Linked DNA regions of Homo sapiens: all the other regions are linked to region 1. Evidence: promoter capture Hi-C in 16 types of primary human blood cells and fetal thymus (Javierre and others, 2016). All regions are on one chromosome and are shown on one strand. Each heading gives the region's core, a stretch centred on a gene start or on the middle of the fragment in contact. The rest is flanking DNA. Distances are from core to core; before and after follow the strand shown. Region 1 holds the start of ELF5 (E74 like ETS transcription factor 5). Region 2 holds the start of LOC105376624 (a long non-coding RNA gene). Region 3 overlaps LOC102723568 (a long non-coding RNA gene).

Region 1 (3,117 bases), core at 398-2,897:
ACAGATGTGCACCACCACGCCCAGCTAATTTTTGTATTTTTAATAGAGATGGGGTTTCACCAGGTTGGCCAGGCTGGTCTTGAACTCCTGACCTCATGATCTGCTTGCCTCGGCCTCCCAAAGTGCTGGGATTACAGGCATGAGCCACTGCGCCCAGCCCAAAAGACTCTTTCTAAAAACAGTATCAGAATAACATGTTTTCCCTAAAAACCTCTCCACTGAGAAGAATGTATATGTTCAGAAAGAAACACTGGTAACATTTCAGAAATCAATGACAAGATAGGCCAGTGCCCAACAATGGAAAACACAGTGTGTGGGACTATCACAGTGCACAGTCCCCTAGAAACCAAAGAGGAAGAGAAGTACAGAATTTTAAAGCTTGAAAGAGGCCCAAAGACCATGTAATCCAGTTACTTGCAAACCCTTTCTAAGGGCAGATTCTTTTGTTCAAATGAAATCTTACCCGGAAGATTTATATAAAAGCTGAGATGCTCTTATTGAGTCAGGAAGGAACGGGGTGGTCTAGAGCCTAACCCACTCTACTCCACTCCCATCCTCTCACCCGCAAAAGTCCTTGTAAGGGCTCCAGGGAGCCCCTGGGGTTCCTCAAGTCACAGTTTGAAAAAAATCACTATTTCAATCCCACTTCCTCCTTTTGCCACTGGGGAAAAATGAAGCCCAGAGAAGTCCAGGTTACCCAGCCAAGATAGGGGTCTAGGCAGTCACCTATCTTCCTTCAACAATTTTTCCATGATGACACCCCGAATCCTCTCACGAACTGCCTTTTGTTTCTGCAGACTATATGCGTATTTGTATTTGTGTGTTTGTAACCATGCCCGGTGATCCCAAGAAAACATAACAAACCAGTCCTTGCTTTCGCTTTAAAGCTTGGAGTCTGCCATTTGAATACAACATCTCGGCTGCCCAAGATGGCTAGAAGCAGAATGCAAAAAGGCACAGGGTTATAAATACCTGTCTCATAGATGACCTGGGACACTGTGCTTTGCAGCCTAAATTAGGCAGAGTTTCTGTTGTCACGAAGAAGTACTAAAAAGCGGGCAGTTCTCAGCGAGACACCTGAGAGCTGGCATCCACATGAGGAGAGGCCCCATCACTTACATTACACTCATGAAGCCCAGAGATGTTAGCTACATTTTTCTAGGTAGCACAGCTAGGAAATGATGGACACTGAATTTGAATCTAAAGGCAACTAGCTGCAAAACCTGAGGTCTTAACACTGGGCCTATAATGCTCTTCCTTCTCACCACATGGGAAAAACGGAGAAAGACATGATCTTACAAAAGCACTGGGCTCAGCCAGCCTGGGAGAGAGGCAGCGCAGACCGGCACCAGGGTGGAATCTCTGTGTTTCCCCTCCAGCTTGCACAGAGGAAAATTCCTCACCAAACGCACGATCCCCGCACAGCTCCCAGGGACAAGAATTTTCTGCTTGTTTACTGAGTCCCCTGGGCTGGGAGTGGGGGGTTGCAGGGCAGGGGTGAGCTGCGCACAAAAGCAGGATAAAGGTAAACTTTCTGCATATGAGAACCATTTCCCCCCCTCCAAGGAGCCGTGTCACACTGTATGTCACCGTCATCAAAGGGGCTGTGCGTAAACCTGAAAAACCAAACGGACCTGTCTGTAGGTGTCACTTATATCACAAGGCTACAGGTGTCTTTATTTCCACTGCACGCTGGTGCTGGGAGCGCCTGCCTTCTCTTGCCTTGAAAGCCTCCTCTTTGGACCTAGCCACCGCTGCCCTCACGTAAGCGCCTTTTCTTTGCTTTTTTGGATGAATCGTAAGGGGTGTCAGGGCTCAGAGGCTCGGCCTGGGGCCTGGGTCTGCTCGTCCATCTCCAGCTCCAGGGCCGGCACCTGCGCTGGGTGCAGTCCCAGGGCCTCCGGGAGCTGTTTGACACGGATGTGACGGCTTGCCTCAGAGAGACCTGCTTGCCTCCGCAGGCCGTGTGGCCACCAGCCCTCCTCACAGCCACCACTCCCTCTGGATCCCTTAGCTGAACCAAGGGGAATTAAGAGAACGCGCCCAGGCGCTCAGTTCTCTATCCTCCCTAAAGCTTCTTTAGGAAGGGAAGCTGGATTTTACTCAGAAAAATATTCAGCTTCAAGGAAAGCCCCCCACCTACCCTTCTCCCCTGACTGAATTCCTTTCCCCACCGGCCTGCCCACTGTCCCCCACCCCCTCGATACAGAGAACTCCCTTATTATAGTTTGGGGCATTTTCAGGAATTTGTACAAAACAGTTTTAAAAGAAACCCATTTGCCCTCTGACATCTCCCCAGAAGAGAATGCTTCCAGAAAAGCAATGGTTAGCGTTTTTCCACTGTGTTCTCAGGCCTTGTCAGACTCTGCAGTGTGTGGGGTTTCTGTGGGGTTGCCCCCTGCTGACAGCGACAGGTAGCACAAGCTCCCTCCTCAGGCTGAAGCCGGGCCTGCGTGTGGATGCCTTTTGTACGCCCGAAAGTGTGTCAGACATCACTAGGTGCAATCGCTTCATGTTACAGATGAGGAAACTGAGGCCAGAAAGGCTAGATGACTTAGGGAGGCAGCTCTGTGGTTCAGTCTAGTCCAGAGACCCAGGGAAAGGGGTGGTTTGCCCATCCGAGTGAACGCTTGATTCTGTTGTCTTCGTGTTCTCTGCAATACTGTTTTTCATAATCTAAGGTATTCTCGGGCCGGAGTTTTCAGTTTGGTCATCTCCCTTTTTCAGAAGTCACCAGAGTGGCAAATTTTTAGATACATTGTTGATGGCTGATTTTTCCCTCTAAAACAGGATTGAATATATGTATTATGCCCCGTCCTTTGCATATATCGGATTGCATGATTTAAAAAAAAAAAAATCCCCATTTTAGAGATGAGGAAACCGTAGTTCGAAGAGGGGCATGAATATTTATATACCACATCTATATGAAAAAAAGCTTAAGAATTTCAGCAGTCTGGGTAGTAAGAAATGTGCCCCACGTTCGCAGCAGCAGAGGTAGGATTTAACCCCTGATATATGTAATCCAAAACTGGTAAGCTTTGCATCGAAGCCTACAGCAAACTACATGGCATACCTTTTTGGATCTTCGCTGCACCTTCAGAAAAACAGCTACAAACA
Region 2 (3,117 bases), core at 360-2,859, 360 kb before region 1:
TTACTCAAGATAATAAACATAGGGACATTTTCAGGTTGATTTATCTGTTTTTATTCCTTATATAAATTTCAGGCATATTCTCTCTAACATTTTAGTAAAACTGCATACATATTTTAACAATATGCATAGAGGTGATTAACATCACCATGTTAGAATATTAGGATGTTATCCATCACACACCGGGGCCTGTCGTGGGGTGGGGGGAGGGGGGAGGGATAGCATTAGGAGATATACCTAATGTAAATGACAAGTTAATGGGTGCAGCACACCAACATGGCACATGTGTACATCTGTAACAAACCTGCTTGTTGTGCACATGTACCCCAGAACTTAAAGTATGAAAAAAAAAATACAAAATTTAGCCAGCTGTGGTGGCATGCACCTGTAATCCCAGCTACTTGGTAAGGTTGAGGCATGAGAGTCGCTTAACATGGGTAAGGTTGAGGCATGAGAGTCGCTTAACATGGGAGGCGGAGGTTGTAGTGAGCAGCCGAGATCACACCACTGCACTCCAGCCTGGGTGACAAAGTGAGACTCTGCCTTAAAATAATAATAATAATAATTTTACCACCACTGAGATGATCTTGTGACATACTTTGTCCAACAAAGTGAGGCAGAAGTGACATTATACAGTTCTGATCCTGGGTCTTGGGAAGCCTGGGGTTTCTGCTGTGTTGCAGAACCCTGCCCAGCCATCCTAGAAAAAAAAAAAAAAAAGAACGTTAGGATGTTATCAAAGAAGCAATTATTTCTCTATCTCCCTCTACGATTTTTAGGAATGAACTTAAACCGATAAGCCTGCACATTTCTGCTCTTTCCGCTTTGTTGTAGCAGTCTTTCACAGATATGAAGACAGTGATGACCCCTGTTTAGTGTAGCTTAAAAATGTGTTGATTCTGCTTTAAATTAAAACCTCTAAAGGCTTTGCACGTAAGTGACACTTTCCAAAGGCACTTTCAAAGCCATTTATAGGATTTCAGGTATAATTCTGCTCTTTAAATCTCCTTGTTTTTAGCAATTATTGCAGTTAATTTAATTGTATGACATCTCTAGTGCTCTTATCACACAATAGAATGAATTAAGTCATTTTGATCAACATTCATCAATGTCATATCAGCAATCAATGTGTGCCATTTATAGAAACACTCTGAAAAAGACTTCCTTCCTTTATCTTCCTAAATTTCAGAACTTTATTCTGATTTTCTCCTTACCTCTTTTTATCCAGAAAGCAAAACTGAACTTCTACTTCAAGTGGCTGGCTCCCTTTGCAGCCAAGAATGACATTGTTTAAAAATCTTGCTATGTTGTGACAGCTGGCACTTTGAAGGATATTACTTTGGCCCATAGTAACTTGGTAAAAATTGTTACCATTTAGCCATTTACCATTGCTTGATTCTGACTCATCAAGCTTTCCAATCAATGTGATTTTTAAGTATAAGCCTTAACTATAAGCCTTAATCTTCAATAATTCAATGCCATTCACATATTGTTCAGGCATTTTTCCTATTTATTTAAGAAATGAATCATCTATAGTTCCAATATGAAATAAAAAAAACTCTACAATAAGCCAAATCTAAAATAATACATGTCTATTATCACTCATAATCCTTGTTAATGCTTTCACACCCTAGGACTGAGGTTTTCCTTCTAGTTTTTCTTCCCTTCAATTCCTTCTGTCCATTTATTCTTAATTTGAGAGATTTTATTTGTTGCCTTATAACCTTCTTCTTTGCCTTTTTCTTCTCTTCCTTTTTATTCTTTAAACATACATCTTTTGTTTTTTTCTTTTAATCTTCTGTCTTAAGCTTAGACTTTCTCACCTGACACCCATTTTCTCAGCATATGTTAGTGAAACGGGAGAGTTCCCTGATCCCTCACAGGACTTATGACAGAGGTGTCGCTCATGTGCTCAGCCACTACAGGCTCGAACTCCTTTCGGGAGGGCGAGCACACGGATGGGCGGGGGCAAGAGCTGGGGCGGGGCGAGTGCTTTTGGGCTCCAGCCCCAGTAGCGTTTAGGGGTGTGTTACAATTAATGCTCTTTTAGTAGTTGCCATTTGTGGACGGCTAAGTGTTAAACCAGCTCAGTAGAGAGTCAGGGTGACAGCCTTTTACACCCTGCCCTCTTGGTACCTGGATCCTTGTCCGGTGTATTAGTCTGTTTTCACACTGCTGATAAGACATACCGGAGACCAGGCAATTTACAAAAGAAAGAGGCTTATTGGACTCATAGTTCCACGTAGCTGGGCAGGCTTCACAATCATGGCAGAAGGTGAAAAGCGTATCTCACATGGCAGCAGGCAAGAGGAGAGAACTTGTGCAGGCAAACTCCCATTTTTAAAGCCATCTGATGTTGTGAGACTTACTATCATGAGAACAGCAGAGGAAAGACCCGCCCCCATGATTCAATTATCTCCCACCAGGTCCCTCCCACAACACGGAATTATGGGAGCTACAAGATGAGATTTGAGTGGGGACACAGAGCCAAACCATATCATCCAGCGTCCAGGAAGATTCAGGTCACTCAGACTTGAAGGATGGTGAGTGCAGGGATTTTATTGGGTGATAGAAGTAGCTCTCAGTGGGATGGATGGGGAGCTGGAAAGAGGATGGAATGGGAAGGTGATATTCCCCCAGAGTTTGGCTGCCCCACAGCCGATCTCCTCTCTGACTGTCCCCAGCTGAACTCCTGTTGATGTTCAGACGCTCCTTCTCTTCTCTTCTTCTATGCCATGCCACTCTGCTGCTCTGTCGTTCTGCTACTCTTCTGTTCCTCTGCTCGTGGAGCTTGGGGTTTATGTGGGCACAGAATAGGGGCATGGCAGGCCAGAGTGGTCTTAGAAAAGGCAACATTTGGGCGTGAAAACAGGGATGCCTGTTCCCATTTAGGTCCATGGGTTTCCAGGCTTGAGGGTGGGGCCTTTGCCAGGGAACTGCCCTCTTCTACCTAGTATTTCCTCGCCTCCTGCCCATATCATTAGCATTTTTAATAATTTTACATTGACCTTGAGCAGAATCACTTAACTTTCATTTTCTGATTGGCATTTTCTAAGGGTCTTGTAACTCCAAATTTCAGCAAATCTTCTTTCGTACTCAGTACTTGTTCAGTGCTCAAGT
Region 3 (3,117 bases), core at 306-2,805, 330 kb before region 1:
AAACCCATCTCTACTAAAAAATACAAAAAAGTAGCCGGGTGCGGTGGCGGGCGCCTGTAGTCCCAGCTACTCGGAAAGCTGAGGCAGGAGAATGGCATGAACCCAGGAGGTGGAGCTTGCAGTGAGCTGAGATCGCACCACTGCACTCCAGCCTGGGCAACAGAGTGAGACTCTGTCTCAAAAAATAAAAAACAAAAAAATCAATGTATGAGCAAGCGGTGTCTACAAACGAGCAAGGAGTGTTATAATAATAGTATCCACGCCAAGTGCTTTACACCATGGCACTATTATCCCTGCTTTATAGACAAGAATACAGAGGCTCAGAGAGTTTCAGCTCCTTGGCTGAAGTCACCAAGCCAGGAAGTAGCAGAGCCCATATTTGAACTCAGGTTTGTGTGAGCATAGAGTTATTTACCCAGGTCTATATAGCTCCACTGTCTTAACAGGCTTGTATGATTTCAGGGGTGCTAGGGGGGTTCCCACCCCAAGAAATGCTGGGAGAATCAACTCGAACACTGATATTAAAATCCCACCCTTAGAAATTCCTGCCCCTGACTGAAACCTGTAAAACTTAATTTTCTAAGCATAGGTTACACTGTTTCTGGGGATGGGGGAGACAGGCCTGGAGTAAGAGGAGAAAGGGAAATCAAGAGGCTGGGACCCAGCACGGAGGCGTGGATAAAGGCCACGGCAACATGAGGCTGGAGGGAATTGAGGACCAACACCCTTCTTCTCCTTCAGGTGTCCCGGCAACTAAAATCTGGGAGCCAATGGGAGGCAAAGCTCCTCAATGGGCTAGACTGACACCAGTGCTGCTTGGGAACCAGGTTTGGGAAGGATGGAAGCAGCAGATGGGCTCAGTCTTACTTAAACCTGAAGTCTCTATGAAGACCTCACTCACCCAAGACGCTGGCTTTCAGCCCCCCAACATCTCAGCAGAACTCCAAGAAGTACAACATTCATTTGGCTTCCAATGAATGCAAGCAAAATGGAGTTTCAGGACCATGGCAAAAAAAGTCTTCTGGTGAAATCAGAACATTCTACATAGAGAACCTGAGAACAGGGGAGGAGGCAGAAGTGGGAGCCAGGCTGAGGCAGGAGAAAAGACAAGAAGAATGTGACTGAAAAATTAATGGAGTGACCAGAAAGGTTTTTGGGGTGTGTGTATGTGCGTGTGTGTGTGTGTGTGTGTGTGTGTGTGTGTGTGTGTGTGTTTCTACCCATTGCAGGAGGAGAATGCATTTATTTGGTGAAAAATGTTTGCTGGGTGTATACTGAAATGCTACACTGGAGCCTATACATACAGAGTATATGGCTGGTATGTTATACCGGCCCTACCTCCTGACCTTTGCATGTTTTGTGTCCTCTGCCTGAAATGCCTTTTACATTATCTACCTGTCTACTCAAATTCACCCTTTAAGACTCAGCTCAGAGATGGTCCTTTCCAGGAAGCTTCCTGTGATTCCTCCTGCTCCCTCTCTTAAATTTCTACCCAAGTATGGATTATGCTGCTGAGTATTCATAAGATCTTTGCCCTTAGTACACTGGCCTGAAGTAATCCATGTCCACGACTGTATTCCTGGCTAAACTGACATTTCTTGAGGATCATGTCTTATCCATCTTTGTATCCCTGGTACCTGGCACTTAGTAGAAGCTTAGTAAATATTCATTGCATTCATTGTGTTGATTCTCCATACCTCCCTCTCCGTACCACTGACTAATTATGGACATTTAATGAGAGGCAACTCACATAGGATAAAGAACATAGTCTGGGCATCAGACCTGAGTTGCAGTCCTGGTCCTACCACTTTCTAGATCTATAGCCTTGGGTAAGTTACTCAACCTCTCTGGTCTTTGGTTTCCTCATTTGTAAAATGGAGCTAAACTCCCCCATCTTGCAGGGCTGTTGTTAGGATTTGATGAGCCGATTTAATCCCTGACACAGTGGATGCCCAGTAATTAGTTGGCATTCCTTTTAGTGATAAGTTGTAAAAGGTTAGGCAAGTGTTGGCAGGGCTAGGCAATTGCCTGGCCTTGATGAGGAGTAAAGTCTACTGCCCTCTAGGGGCTGCATGAGTAACCTGGGCCTCACTAGCATGGTGTGCTCTACTCGCAGGAGTCCTTACTGGTCCGTGAAGGGGAAGTGGGGAATCTGTCCTAGAACACAACCCACCACTACACCACTGCCTCCTTCTGGGGCTGGCATTACACTCAGCCAGGCTAGAGAGGCAGCTTTTGGTAAAAAGAACATCAAAGTGGCAAAGACACAGAGATGGCCTTACATAACAGGAGTGGCTGTAGGAGGTGACCCCTATGCAGTGAACACGTCTGACTGTTCCCTCCTCTCCTGAAACACAGCCATCCTACGGTCTCTCCATCTTCAGCAGGAAAAATGACCACAACACTGAAAACTGGATGAAAAGGAATGGCTGAAGTCAGCTTAAAGGCCAAGGAAGGGAAATGGTCAGGTGAGGGAGAACAAGTAGAATAATTTAGAGGACTCAGGGGCCTATAAGGGTTGTGTGATTAGAAAGCCCCTGCAGAAGAAGGAGGTTCCTTGAGGGACCAAGTGAGGAGAAGGCCTTCAACTGGTGGTTTAGTTAGAATCTGTTCCAGGTGCCATGCCAAAGGTGAGCTCCAAGGGATCACTGTGTTCAGCTTCAGACCAAAGGAAAGAACAGTTCTAGATGTTATGGATTCAATGTTAGTTATCAGTGAAGCATCGTCGGTAATGGGCTGTGCCTTCCTGCCCTTCCCATGTTAAAAGCAAAGTCAAGACATTTGGCAGAGACTGCTGACTATTCTCTGATAACTCCTCTGTCCTTCTTTCTGAGCTATAGGCTTGGAATGCAGATGTGATGTCAGGGGCTGGAGCAGCTATATAGGACCATGAGGTAGGATCATTAAGAGTTAGAAGGATTCATGGTATTTCAAGACTGTGGGTTTGTCATCTCAGCTGGCAAAACCAACTGTGAAAGGGAAATAAACTTCTACCTCTTGCTTTGAATTTTCTGTCACTCATAGGCAAGCCTGCTCTTAACTGATACAAGGAGCTCCATAATAGTTTCAAAGGCCCCAAACCTCCATTTTTCTGGAAAAAAGCCATGTAGACTAATG

What was found. The method cuts DNA at HindIII sites, captures the fragments that hold promoters and counts their contacts. A CHiCAGO score of 5 or more calls a contact.
Region 2: a contact is called between a fragment that was not itself captured here and the fragment with the promoter of ELF5 in region 1, in 1 of 17 cell types (endothelial precursors). The highest score is 6.2, in endothelial precursors.
Region 3: a fragment that was not itself captured here is called in contact with the fragment with the promoter of ELF5 in region 1 in 1 of 17 cell types (M2 macrophages); the score reaches 5.9 in M2 macrophages.

The regions. Positions count from the first base shown.
Region 1 is chr11:34,512,324-34,515,440 of GRCh38, reverse strand. ELF5 (E74 like ETS transcription factor 5) reads left to right here and starts at 1,647. Exons shown (of 7, transcript NM_001422.4): 1 at 1,647-1,764. The HindIII fragment of the contact is 1,187 bases long and covers 890-2,076 here.
Region 2 is chr11:34,874,590-34,877,706 of GRCh38, reverse strand. It overlaps LOC102723568 (a long non-coding RNA gene), which reads right to left. Exons shown (of 7, transcript XR_007062652.1): 7 at 28-697. It overlaps LOC105376624 (a long non-coding RNA gene), which reads left to right and starts at 2,429. Exons shown (of 2, transcript XR_931185.2): 1 at 2,429-2,540. The HindIII fragment of the contact is 397 bases long and covers 1,411-1,807 here.
Region 3 is chr11:34,839,915-34,843,031 of GRCh38, reverse strand. The region is part of intron 6 of LOC102723568 (a long non-coding RNA gene); the gene reads right to left. Among named protein-coding and RNA genes, the nearest start is that of APIP, 75 kb to the left of the region's middle. The HindIII fragment of the contact is 202 bases long and covers 1,455-1,656 here.